2 separate regions of the Homo sapiens genome follow, and region 2 is linked to region 1. The links are contacts of gene promoters, found by promoter capture Hi-C in blood cells and fetal thymus (Javierre and others, 2016). All regions are on one chromosome and are shown on one strand. The core of a region is centred on a gene start or on the middle of the fragment in contact, and the rest is flanking DNA. Distances in the headings are between cores, read along the strand shown.

The links. Contacts are between HindIII fragments. The CHiCAGO score rates a contact against its expected background, and 5 or more counts as called.
Region 2: a contact is called between the fragment with the promoter of PWWP2B here and a fragment that was not itself captured in region 1, in 6 of 17 cell types (total B cells, M0 macrophages, naive CD4 T cells and 3 more). The highest score is 7.7, in total B cells.

Annotation. Positions count from the first base shown.
Region 1 is chr10:132,655,612-132,662,395 of GRCh38, forward strand. The region is part of intron 4 of INPP5A (inositol polyphosphate-5-phosphatase A); the gene reads left to right. Among named protein-coding and RNA genes, the nearest start is that of INPP5A, 120 kb to the left of the region's middle. The HindIII fragment of the contact is 1,526 bases long and covers 3,150-4,675 here.
Region 2 is chr10:132,391,666-132,398,449 of GRCh38, forward strand. PWWP2B (PWWP domain containing 2B) reads left to right here and starts at 5,535. Exons shown (of 3, transcript NM_138499.4): 1 at 5,535-5,686. The coding sequence starts at 5,562. LOC124902526 (a long non-coding RNA gene) reads right to left here and starts at 4,891. Exons shown (of 2, transcript XR_007062342.1): 1 at 2,996-4,891; 2 at 1,150-2,665. RefSeq lists enhancers at 3,453-3,976, 3,977-4,499, 6,070-6,592, 6,593-6,784 and silencers at 4,308-4,687, 4,708-5,137, 5,548-5,657, 5,668-5,807. The HindIII fragment of the contact is 15,859 bases long and covers 1,133-6,784 here.

The sequences.
Region 1 (6,784 bases), core at 2,663-5,162:
AATTCATTTTCGTTTAACGTCACCCGCATCTGGTTTCACCACAGAAGTGGAGCCCTGCAGTGGGAGGGGTGGGGGGCCTGTCACTGGGCTTTGCTGCTGATTTGGCCTACCTGGGAAGCCCAGAAGATGTATTTACTGTAGGGACTTGAGGCTTGCTTGGGGCCTGGTAGGAGCCAAGGCCACCCCATCCTCCCAGCTCAGCTTGGTGACTTACCATCCATGGCTCTGGTTCGCTTGTCACCCGCCCCTCCCAGAGAGGCTGCGTGGGGCTGCAGGCGCCTGAGTGTAGGTCCCAGCCTGTGTCCTGGGCTCTAGTCCCATTGAAGCCTTGTGGCTGGCTGGGCATGGGTCCCATGCAGACTGGTGGGGCCAGGAGGGCCTGGCGTGGGCACCTGCAGCAGCTTCTTCAAGGCCTCCCAGCACTGACCGTGGCCTCTCAAAGCTTCGGCTGCTTCAGCAGCTTTCCTGCTGGGAGCTGTGAGCACTGCTGGGGCCCATGCCCAGGACTGTCCTGACCGGACTGAAAGCCCTAGAGGGAAGCTGGCAGTGGGGACAGGGTGCAAGAGGAAAGACCCTCTCTCCATGCAGCTCCTTCATCCACCCACCTGGAGGAACTCCTAGAGGGAAGGTGGCAGTGGGGTCAGGGTGTGAGAAGGAAAGCCCCACTCTCCTCTTCATCCACCCACCCAGAAGAAGTTTGAAGAAACCATGCCTTTTAATGGCTTAAAGTTGGAGCAGAAGGGTTTATCTGCTGATACAATTAAGATAGCTTCGGGAGAGGGCTGAGAAGGTGTGGCCTGGCGGACACACTGCCTCCAGGGACACCCCTGCCCCCGCCAGCTGTGCCTGCTCAGAGAGTGCCTGCTCCTCGGAGGGTCCCCCCTGCTTGGGAAGGTACCTGCTGCACAGGACCCCAGCTGGAGTCAAGGAGTCAGCAGAAGAGGGGGTTGGAGGAGCGGCTGGGGACAGGAGGTGGCTGTGCGGGCTGCCCCACCTCGCCTCTTGCCTGAGCCCCTCTGTGGCCACATAGACAGAAGGAGGGGTTGGAGGTGCAGCCAGCCAGCTGGGCCAGGTGAGCCGGTCCTGAAGGGCACCAAGCAGGGTTGCCCCGGGCTCCTGAGAGGATTTTTCACATGCAGCAGCTGGAGACAGTTTGGAGGGGCCCAGGGCGGTGCAGACCCTTCCACAGCTGCTCAGGTGGCCCGGAGGCGTGTGCACCCTTCCCTATGCAGCAGGGCTCCACAGGCCTGGGCACTCAGCCCAGATGGTGCATGTGGGGAACCGTGGGACCCCATGTGCCAGGAGTCTCTGGGCAGACAGCAGCGACAGGGCTGTGTGGGGACTTGGGCAGGCCTGAGCCTGGGGTCCGATGACCTAGTTGGGTCTGGGGCAGCCACAAGCCGAGGCGTTGAGGAAGAGAGAGTGAAGTCTGAGCTCCTTGTGTAGGAGACCTCCGTGTGGAGTAGCCCCAGAGGCAGGAGGCTGCCTCAGCCAGGATGGCCCCATGCACTTGCTAAGCTGCGCCGCCTGCTCACTCAAGGCTCTTGGGCTCGGAGCAGAACTATGAGCCTGCAAGGCCTGCTGGGCAGAGTGGCCACAGCACGTGGCCGCTGGTCACCAACCGGGGGCTTACCCCTCTCCCACCCGCTAGCGCTGCCTTTGCACCTCGGAGGGCAGGTCTCTGCTGGCACCATGAGTGACCTGCAAGCACTGCCATGGTGGACTCTGCTCGCGCCTTGGTGGCTTCTAGGCTTTTCCAGGGGCTCTGGCCTCCTGCAGAGCAGGGTCTGCCTCCCCCGCGGCTGGGTCTGTGGAGAGTGAAGTGGGGCACAGATGCCCTTTGCAAGTGCTGTGCACGGCAGCTCACAGCCCCCACCCCCAGCTCTGTAGTCTGTAAGAGGCAGGCTCTCGGCATGGCCCCCAGGCAGTGGCCCTGGTGCTCTTGGGGTGGGGGGCCCCAGTACCCAGCGGTGGCCCAGGAATGAGAGGCCCGCTGCTTCCTGGGAGAGGCCCTTCTGCTTTCCCTCCTCCTCCTCTGTGAGCTCCCCCTTCCACTCTCGTTCTCCTAAATAAGACTTTAGGGAGAATTTATGGAAAATTGATGGAGTTTACGGATGTTCTTTGATCCAGAGAAGGGGAAGGAAAGGCAAACGCGTTTATGATGAGGAAGCTCATCTGCCTTAGGGCTCCAGCCCTGCCCTGGGGCTCGCTGCCTCCTCACCTGCCTGGGGGCAAGACAGTCCTGATGAAGTGAGAGGGGGCGAGATTGGTTTTCTGAGGGCACCGGGCCCTTCATGCTCCCCTAAATCACGGGCTGTCTCCTCAGCGGGCAGGTAATGACCTGCTCCCCGGCCCCAGCACCTGCAGTCCCGTGGGACGCGATGATGTGCGGCTGGGGCTGCAGTGAAGGTGAAACTGTCATATCGATCTTTTTAGCACTAAAATATGAGCCACTTTACTCCGCTCCCCGCTGCTGTGATGTGAAAAATAATAACTCGGATCCAAATTAAAAATATTGATCTCTGGAAGGTGTTGAAAGTAAATAAACACCTTCCGAAGTTTTTGGGTCAGCCGAGAAATGGTATTCAGCAATAAATGTGTCAGAGTCCAGGGTTCTTGATCTGTTTTTTCTTTGAATTGATTTTTCATTATTTACTTCCTAAAAGTGTTGGAATTTGGTCCTCCACTGTGAAATCCCAGTGTTTGGGCACATTATTTCTTTGGGGCTTATGAGGTGCTCCTAATCCACTCCCTTATTGATGGATTGATGTTTGACTCCATAAGCCTGCTTTATTTAGGACCTTCCATCATAATTTTTTGTACATTTAGGCTTGACTCTTTTATTTCCTTCTAACAGATGAGCTGACATTGGGCTATCAAACGGGTGGGAAAACAATTGCCATGAGGTTAATTTCATGGTCGGCTCCGTGCGTTCTGAGCAGACGGGTGTTTCCTGGCTGCAGGCCGGGCCTTGGATGCAGCCTTGACGCGTGTCGATCTGTTTACACACAGGGCTGAGTCCGCCGGCCCCCCGGGGGTGCTCATGGGTGCCCGGGTGTCTGCAAGCTGCCCGCAGCTGGGTGGTCTCTGGGCACGGATGCTCTAGGCCCTCTGGGCTCCAAGGAGGCTGGGTTGTATGTCTCTTGAGAAGCTTTCCTTTCGAAAGGCCACCAAGACCACCGAGACTGCTGAGACCGCCAAAGCCACCAAGACCGCCGAGACTGCCAAGACCACCAAGGCCGCCGGCTGCTCCCGGTGGCTCCATGCACCCGGCAGGAGAGTGGAAGGCGTCGGGCCTGGGGCAGTTTGAAAAGATAGGTGCCGCCAGCATCTGCGCTTCCTCGTGGGTGCTCAACAGGCTGCCTGGGAAGCTCCTTCTGCCATCACCTGGAGTCAGCTGCCGTCCACAGTGGAAGCTGCCAGCCACCAAGGCTACCGACCTGGGCCCTGGGGATGAGCAGCCCAGGAGGCGAAGATGCCTAGGTGGGTCCCCAGCTCTGCAGGTGCCACTCCCCACGCCAGTGTTCTCCAAACTTCCGGGGAGACCTGTCTGTGCTCCTGTAGGTGTCAGGCAGACTCAGAGGCACAGGGGTTCAGATTGAGGCCTGGGGCTGAGGAAGCAGGAAGTCCTGTCAGGAGCTGGAGCACTGAGAAAGGCACCTTGCTGAGAGCAGCCTTGGAAGGGTCCAGAACTGGAAAGATGGAGAGCTGCCATTGGCCCGTAGCTCTGGGGCTGGTCCTGGCCATCTAGCCATGGGACCATGGGCAGAGGGTTCCCTAGCTCTGGGTGAGGCGGGAGTGGTGGGCAGTGCTGGCCATGAGGTCCCTGTGGGGTGCATCCACGGACGCGGGTCTGGAGGCGCTGCTGTCTAAGCTGAGGCTTTTGAAGGATGACCGTGCCCAGGTTATCCAGTGTTCCTTCTCAGCGAGCAGCTCCCATGGCAGTCCATTCATTCAACATGCCCTGGTCCAGCTGCTGCACAGCCATGGGTATTCTGTGCTGAGCGCCGTGGCTGATGCACACCCACCGTCCCCTGCAGAGGAGACCTCTGCACGCAGGCCCACAGCAAGGGCCGGATCAGGAGAACAACCCACTTGGCAGGCGGCAACCTTGCCTGGCACTCACCAGGGCCTCCTCCCCAGCACTGTCCCGAGTCAGGTCTGCACGGCTTCATGGCTGCCTGCCCTGGGAGGTGGAGCATGGAGAAGGCCAGTGCCTCATCACAGAGCCAGATGCCCACAACAGGATCCAGTGCTGTCAGCTGGGCTCCAGAAACCTGAGGACATGCAGCCTGCAGCTCCTGACACATGACATGTGACATACAACACATGACACGCGGCATACTCCCTGTGACATGGCACATGACACGTGACACAACACATTCTCATGCTCCGCCGACGCGTGACCCACGGCACGTTCCCGCGCTCCGCCGACGCGTGGCCCACGGCACGTTCTGACGTCTGCCAATGCGTGACACACGGCACATTATAATGATGTAAATATTGATTATTGATTTAAGTGAAAATATTGAGAGGGTGGGGGTGAGAGATGGAGTGTGTGTGTGATATTGAGTGACGGGGAAAGATAGTAGAAAGTAGTTAAATCCTCTTCTTCCAGCATGGAAAAATTGAAAAATCAATGTTGAAAACTGGAAAATCAAGAAGTGGCAATATAAGCTTTAGAGGTATGGAGATAAATACCAAAAGAAAACAATCAAAAGAAAATAATTGCCTCTGGGAACTAGAAGACTGAAGTGGACAGGAGCTACTGTTTTCATAGTGTGCCTTGCAGAACTCGTGTGTGTGTGTGTTACTAGCTTTTAAAAAACAAAATTCCAGGAAACTTCTTAGGAGGAAGAGACTCCTTCTGTTGATGGTGACATCAAACAAGACCTGCAGGAGGAGGTAGCACTGACAAGAAGGTGGTGTGCCAGTTTGTGATCTGGTGCGGTGAGGCACCTGTGTCAGCAACAGGTGGGAGTGGCTCTGGTGTCTGAGCAGAGGCTCTGGTGTCTGAGCAGAGGCTGTCTGGATGCCATTCACGGTGAGAGAAGAGCCTAGAATCTTGACTGTCCTTTGAGTATCAGGTAAAGAAATTTGAATGTGATTAGGTAGTCAGTGGGGACCATTACAGAGTTCAGGGAGAGAGGTGAGGCAGTCAGAACTGGGGGAAGATGGAGAAGGGACAAGTGTGTTGTTTCAAACGTAGAGTCCTCTGATATCTACCTTTTAAATTCTTATTGAAGTAAATGCACAGAGAGGACCAGAAGTGGTGATCCATATTGGTGCACATTTATTTTTTTGACTCTGATTCCTTTAAGCCTAAAACTAGGGCAGTGTCCCATACTGAGCACTAAAGAGAAGTAGGGTCAAACCCAGGAGGGAGGAAAACCAGATCCCTGCACCTTGGCCAAGATGAGGATGCCGGATGGAGCATAGCCAGTCCTGGAATGAGGCCTGCATCTCTCCCTTGCACAATGCCCCCACCCACAATCCAGCCAGGTCTCTCTGTGTCCCCAGCTGCATGCTCCCACCTCTTCGTGATATGGTTTCAAAAACACAATCCAGCACCATGTGTAAATTGTTTGATGCTTGAGATCAACTTTACTGAATTGCCTACATTGAAAGTGATGAGGACAATACCTCCTTCAGGAAGAAAAAGGCAAAATGAAGTGCTTTCATGAATAGTCAGAAGGGTCTTACTAACATAAAAATATTTTGATTATGTCTTCAGAATCTCTTTATGTAGTTAGTGGCTTGTAAGCTGTCAACTTGTAAATGATGCCGTTGGAAATTGAAATGTAAATAACATTACCATTTATAATAGCATCAAAAATATGAAATATTTAGGAATAAATTAGGTCAAGATGTGTAAGACCTGTATACTGAGAACTATGATATATTGCTCAGAGAAATTAAATAAGATCTAAATAAATGGAGAGATATACTATGTTCATGGATCAGAAGACTCAATCTTGTTAAGATGTCATTTCTCCCCAAATTGATGTAAAGATTCAGTGCATTACTAATCAAAATCTGAGCAGACTTTTTTTTTTGGTAGAAATTAAGCTGGTTCTAAAATGTATATGTAAATGTAAAGGAATTAGAATGGGCCAAAACAACTTTGAACATGAATAAAGATGGAGTCCTTATACTACCTGATTAAGACTTCTTTGAATCTCAATAATTAAATCAGTATAGTATTGGCATAAAACCAGATAAACAGATCACAGAACATTATGGAGAGTCTAGAAAGTGGCCCACTATTGATCTTTGTCAGAGGTATCAGTGGACTTCAGCAGTGAGTGAATGATCTTTTCCACAAAGGGTGCTGTAGCAATTAGAGGGCCGTTTGCAAAAAACTCACTTCAATTGTTACTTGAAACCACATGAAAATTTAGCTTGAACTGGATCATAGACCTAGCGTAAGAGCTAGAACCATGCAGCTTCCACAAGATCACACAGGACTTCTTTCTTTAAATATGACACCAAAAGCAGAAACCACTATAAGAGGAAACCAGTCAGTTGGACCTATGAAGACGACCGTGGCAAGCGCTGGGGAGGCGGTGGTAGCACTGCAGCCGTCGTGTTAGTGCTGGAAATGTAAAACATGCGAAAACATGGAGGTCTTAAAAAAAACGTTGAAAATACACACACCGTATCACCCAGCCGTTTCCCTCTTCAGTATTTACTTAAGAGAAATGAAAGCACATTCCACACTAAGACTGAATGTTCATAGCAGCTTTATTCAGAATAGCCAAAACCTGTCAACAGCCCAGATAGC
Region 2 (6,784 bases), core at 4,285-6,784, 260 kb before region 1:
GGGTCACACATCCACTGTTTGGAAACCAAAGCAGTTGTCTGGGGATGGGATGCCCCACCCTAGAAATATCTTTGCCCAGATGCTGCAGCCACAGGGCCTCTCGAACCTGAGTCTGGAAGGGATTCACAGCCACTGCTGAGAGCCAGCCTGGCCCTGGGGGCTGCCTCGGCTCCCCTGCCAAGGATGTGGGAGAGCACAGGTTATGGGGTCAGAGGAGGCTTCAAGAGCAGCTACCTGGGAGCCACTCACCTGCCTGGCTTCTTCCGCATCACGGGCCTCAGCCAGATACCAGCAGGGGCAGATTGCACACAGAGCATGTGGGCACAGGGTTTGCATCTCCTACCTGGCCCTGAGCATAGCACAAGGCCTCAGGTGTACCCGAGGATCCCACTGAGGGCCCAGCTATACAAGTATCATGAGAGTGGTGGTGGTGGTGATCATTTTGCTGGTGATAATGGTGATGGTGATATGGTGATGGCGGTGGTGGTGATGATGCTGATAGTAGTGGTGATGGTAGGTGTGATGGTGGTGATGGTGGTGGTGATAGTCATGGTGGTGATGGTGACAATGGTGGGGATGGTGGTGGTGGTGTGATGGTGATGATAGTGGAGATGGTGGTGGCAGTGACAGTGATAATGGTGATGGTGGTGTGATGGTGGTTGCAATGGTGATGGTGATAGTGATGGTGGTGGGGTGATACTGATGATAGTCATGGTGGTCATGATGGTGATGGTGATGGTGGTAGTAGTGATGGGGGAGGTGGGATGGTGATCATGATGATGATGGCAGTAGTGGTGATGGTGATGGTGGAGGTGGTGGTGGTGATAATGGTGATGGTGATGATGGTGATGTGATAATGGTGATGGTGATGGTAGTGGTGATGGGGGTGGTGGTAATGGTGATGATGGTGATGGTGATGATGGTGATGGTGGTGATGATGGTGATGGTGATGGTGATGATGGTGACGGTGGTGACAATGGTGATGGTGATGGTGGTGGTAGTGATGGGGGAGGTGGGATGGTAATGCTCATGGTGATGATGGCTGTAGCGGTGATGGTGGAGACTGTGGTGGTGATGGTGATGCTGATAATGACAAAAGTGTTGATGATGGTGATGGCAGCTAACTCATGGAAGCTTTACTGGGGCTTGTGCTGTACTAAGTATCTCATTTAATATTAACTCATTTAATATTCAGTACGAGGCTACACGGTAGGTACCATCATATTTCCCACTTTACAGATGAGGACACTGAGGCACAAGGGAGGTGGCAGTCTCCCCAAGGTCACATGGCAGGACTCTAGCAGTTTGGCCTCAGAGTTTATGTGCCTGCCCAGCTCTCTGCACCACCTCGAGTGGAGTCTTGGCAGGTTCTGTTCCCAGCCGGTCCTTTGAGATACTGCCTCAGGGGATGTGACCCTATATCATCCTGATAACCCAAGGGGCAGGGAGACAGCTCCAGAACAGACAAGACAAAGTTGGCCTTGTAGACCCACACTGCCCTCCAAGGGCTTCCAGACTGGAGCAGAACAAAACAAACACTGCCCAAAGGATCTGTGGCCTGCTAGAAGGTCGAGGGTTCCTGGCTCAGCATCTGCAAAGATTGCCTTGAGCCCCTGCCTCAGACGACACGACAAGGGACAAGGAGTGTGTTCCCCAGGCCGGCCTCCCTGCCAGACACCTTGGAGGAGGCCTGGCGTGCTCCTGCTCCCTAGTCTGTCCAGGCTTCTTGAGTGATGAATGGTTGCTTACTGAAATCAGAGCAGGCCCTCTGTATTAAAGGCTTTATCCTGTCTCCTGCCTTCCACAGCTGCTGTGGGCAAAAGGCTTGCCATGAGGCGACCTGGGTCCCAGCCTCAAGGCCCATCCCTGCCTTTGGCCTCTGGGCACCAGCTCTGGAGAAATCTGTGGTCTCTGACTCATGGCTGTGTCCTGCGAGGCCTCCATCTTGACCAGACACCTTCGATGCATCTCAGGAGCACCTCACTATGCTGCATGAGACTTGCACACAGCCAGGCCCTGGTGAGCTCCAGTAAGATCAAGCAAGCCCAGGTGTGTTGGGGGTTGGGGGGATACCAGGTGATTCTGGAGCAGGCTGGACACAGGCCAGGCTGTGGCTGCACCTCAGTCATGGGGAGGCCGCTGTAAGCCTCATCTCGTGGAAGAGACCAACAAAGGCTGAGAACCTGCTCACCACTGCCCTTCCCAAGTCTCAGTGATGATGTAGTGCGGTAGGACAGTGCTGGGCAGGTCCAGGTCCAGCAGTCAGGAGGGCCCTCTAAGCTCGGACCTGGGGGAGCGACCCTGAAAGACGAGGGGCGGGCATGGAGCTGGTGATGCAAGTGAGCCAGGCTGCCAGGGAGGACAAATCCTGGAGTTCCTCCAAGGACCGCAGGGGAGGCAGACCCTGAGGGGAGGTGGCCTGCGGGGTTCCTGCCTTCCTCCCCTGCTGTCTCAGGGGACATAGAGGCCAGCCCCTGCTTCCTCCTCCAGCCACCTGTCCCTCCCTCAACTGTACCCCTTCAGGCCACCCATCCTGCCAACTGCTGGTCACCCACCCCCAGCCCCGGTGGAAGTTCCGGACACTCTCCTGTCCCCTTGGCTTACCCCATCTGACTGGCTGGGCCGTCCCGAGCTGGGCATGTCCTAGGCCTTGCTGCGGCTGTGCCTACAGCCAGAGGACCAAAGGCTTTAGGACCTTTTGTTTGGATCAAGTCTCTTGAAGACAAAGTCTAAAGACCTCGGAGGTGTCTCTTCCCACTCTTGGCCTTTTCACCCCAGCCAGGGGCGTACTCCCGAGGCTCCTCTCCAGCCCAGCCAGGCAGCTCAGGGTCCTCTCACTGTGGGCAGCACCAGCCCCAGTACCCAGGGTGCTTCCCAGAACTGGGCAGACCTCACTGACTGGCATGAGCAGGGTGGCCTCTGGGGAGATGCTCAGAGCAGCAAGCCTAGGACAGCCTCCCAACCCCCGAATACAGGGTCAGACAGGAGGGGATACCTGGGCTGATGAGGTCCCCAAGGACACCTGCACTTTAATCGGGGACTCTGGAAACTCCCATGGCCTCTTCTTCAACAAGCAGGTTGGAGCGGGGCGGGAAGCAAGTGGGAGCAGGTGCGGGGGCAGGGCTGCTGGGGGAGGCCCTGAACAGCCACCGTTTAAGTTGCAAAAATGGTCTCCCTGTCTGCAGATGGTCTTTTTTATACCTTACCTAGTGGAGAGCAGGTTTTAAAAACGGCTTCCAAGTTCACTTAACAATACACAGTAAATAGCACGGGCCAGAGGGGAAGAGGCAGAGGGAAGGCGGGCAGGGCAGAGGGAAGGTGGGCAGGGCAGAGGGAAGGCGGGCAGGGCAGAGGGGCAGGAGGTACCATGGGCCAGCCGTGCTTCTCACTGCCCTCTTCCCCTCTCCAGCCAGAGCTGCCAGCTGCTGGGTGCATCTGTCTGGCCCTCTGTGCCCCGGAACCCTCTTCCCCTGTCCTGCCCGCCGCCACCCAGCCTTGGTTCCTCTCAAAGCCCAGCAAGTCCACAGGTGGGTCCCTCAGCACACCCCAAACTGTTCCTCCTGCTGGCGTGGGAAGTCACCAGGAGCCCCAGGCGCACGCAGACACCTTGCAGAGGATCCTGCCCACCCCCACCCCCACCTCGGAAGCCCTTGCTTTTGCCCACCTGGTGGGGCCCTGGTGAATGCTGGTGCTCCCCTGGACACTCTTTCTGGATCCCTCCACCCACATACAGCCCCCTGTGCATTAGCCCCACCCCATGCTGGCCCCACCAGCCTGAATGCTGATTCACCCTGGCAGTCCCCAATGCTCAGAAAGGGCAGTGCCCAGCAGGCCTCTCCAGCAGGCAGGAAGAAGAGCCAAGCAAGTGGGCAGCCTCAGGATGGCCGCTCAGCCCAACCTGGAGCAGGGTGGCGAGGGGGTCCCTGCTGCCTGGCATTTTTCCTCCAAAGTCAGCCCCACCCCTGGAGGGGGCAGCTGCAGAGGCCTGTGGGCAGGACAGCAGGCAGGCTCCACTGCAAGCCTGGCAACCAGTGGGCAGGGGCTGGCTGACCCTGGAGAACGGGGCGCCTTGAGGTGCCTGAGGCCCCAGGAAGGGCTTAGTGTTGGCGGGAGCCCCAGGCCACACAGAGGAGGACAGACACTCACTGGGCTTCCAGGCCTCCTCTGGGACTGTCCCCGGCCAGAACTCTGGCTCATTCGGCCTCGGTCCCTACCCCTGTTCTAGCCGGACGGTCAGGTGTCCCAGGCCCCGCGGGCTCCCTCACTCCGCCCTGGCTCCTCTCTGAGGCTCCCACTGCCGCGCGGCCGCCGGAGGGCGAGGTCGACAGGCGCCAGCGACCCGACGGTCCCCAGTGGCACCAGGGGCGGTGGTCCTCAATTCCCAGGCTGGGAGGAGCCCTGCCCGGCGGCGCTGGGTCGCCAGGACAACTACGCGGTCCCCCGCCCCGCCTCCAGGCCTCGTCAGGCGCTGCAAGTCCGGCTCAGAAGCCCGGCCCGGGGCCAAGGTCACCGCAGCAGGCCGGGCCCCTGCGTTCTGAGCCGGGTGCGGACGTGCTGGTGCTCGGGGAAGTCGGGGGCTTTGACGCCTGAAGGCGCGGGAGCCGGGCGCCTGGGGGAAGGGGGTCCGGCGCCGTCACCTCCCACTCCTCGCCCGCGGGTCGGGGAGCCCCTGCCGCGGGGGAAGGAGGCTGTTTCCTTTGTAAACTGGCGGAGGCGCGCCTGGCCCCTGGGCCCGGCAACCCGAAGAGACACGCCCGAGACCTCCGGAGGGAGTTAACCCCCCGGGCCCCGGTGCCGGCCACCCCCAGGCGCGCAGGGTGGCCCTGAGCCGGGCGCGCGCCCGCTTGTCGCCCCGAGAGGCGCCGAGCCCAGTGGGGCGACCCAGTGTCCCGCCCCCCACGCGGCGAGGGCGACACTAGGCCGCTGCCCCCGGGCGCCCCGCGTCCCCTCCGCCTGCCCCGGCTTCCTGCGCGCGCCGCCCGGGACTTCCTCGCCGCAGTGCCCGGGGCCACCAGAGCCCAGCGCGGGGCGCTGCCGGGACACGCGGGCGGCCGACCCCAGGCGGGAGGATCCGGGCCACCGGGGAGGGAGGGAGGGCGCAGGGCTGGGCCCGGAGGGGGAGGGGGGCCCGGGACCGGCCCCAGGCAGGGGAGCGGGGGGATGGGGTCCCGGGGCTCCGGCCGCGGCGGGTGTCCCCCCCGCCGCCCCCGGGCTCGTGGCTCTCGGGTCCTCCCGAGCCAGGGGACACTCCCGGCCAGCGTGGGCCGCGAGCCCGGGCGCAGCCCCCTCTCCAGCCCGGGGGTCCGCACCGCGCGTCCGGCCGACCTCTGCGGGCGGGCGCGGCTTCTCCCGGGACGCGGCGGCGGCGGGCGGGGTCCCCGGGAGCGGAGCCCGCGGCCGCGCGCCCCCGGCCCGGCTCGGCTCGGCTGTGGCGGCCGCCCCAGCGGAGCTTTGTGACGTCAGGCGGCCGCGGGGCGGCGTCACGCGCGGGGCTGACCCGGCGGCGGCGGCGGCGGCGGCGGCGGCGGCGGGGCGGGGGCGGCCTGGGACGCGGCGGGAGCATGGAGCCGCGCGCCGGCTGCCGGCTGCCGGTGCGGGTGGAGCAGGTCGTCAACGGCGCGCTGGTGGTCACGGTGAGCTGCGGCGAGCGGAGCTTCGCGGGGATCCTGCTGGACTGCACGAAAAAGTGAGCGGGGGCGCGGGCCGGGACACCCCCGGGGTCCCCACGCGACACCCGCCTCCGCCGCCCGGAGACCCGGGACCCGCCTCCGGGTTGGGGGTGGCGTGGCCCCGGCGCCCGCTTTCGGTTTCTGCCGAGCCTGAGTTTCGGGGCGCGCGAGCGCGGCCGCCACTCGGGGGGGCAAAAGTGGTTCTCAAAGTCGTCGCGACTTTTCGGGGCGGGCGCCGGGCCGGGGCGGGCCGGGGCGGGGGGCGCGGGGCCGGGGTCCCGGAACTCCACACATCTGCCATAATTAATGCACTTTTCTTTGTTCAGAGCCACTGTTGAATTCGACTGTTGGCAGAATTGTCGTTAAAGCAGGGGAGGGTCAGATGCGCCGTGGCCTTGCCCTGGCAGTTCCTCACAGGTGGGGGTGCCCTGTCGAAGGCCACGGGCCCCTGGCTGCTGGGAGTGACTCCGCGGCTGAGGTTTGGATTCGGGGAGAGCAGTTGCGCCCAGCTGTGCGATTTAAGAACAGTTTCAGGCCAGGGAGCCCTGAGTCATGGGGGCGTGAAGAGGTACAAGCTGTGGGAGCCGTGGGCACATCCCCCGGGAGCCCTGGCTTCCTGGGTGGGGGGCGCAGGGCAGGGCGGGGCGGTTCCTCCTGAGAGGCACCTGTGCACGGGCTGCAGGGACCCATGCGGTGCAGATGAGCCTCCTGGACACCGCGTCACATGGCAGGGAGCTGTCGCTGCCAGATCAATGATTAGGCATGAATCAGGCTGTGGCCTCGCTGCGCTCCTGCAGGGCTTTCTTTTGAAACTGGGAGCAGGGAAAGGCTCCTCTTGTAAAGGCCCAACTTTTTCCATCCGTGGAGCCCAGATTTTTGCCTGGTGACATGAATTAGCAGAGAGGACCGTGTTCCTTCCACAATTATTTCGCAGACGTTATCTCTTCATTAGATGTGCCAGAAGCCATTTATCCACAAGTCACGTGATTTAACATATGGCTCCCGTGTGGTTCCTGCCCGCTCCGTGTGGGCTACCGCTGGGAGTGCACGGGCAGGATGGAGGGACACTCGGGGGGTGAGAATCGCCACCTGGGAGCTGCCATCCCCTCCACCAT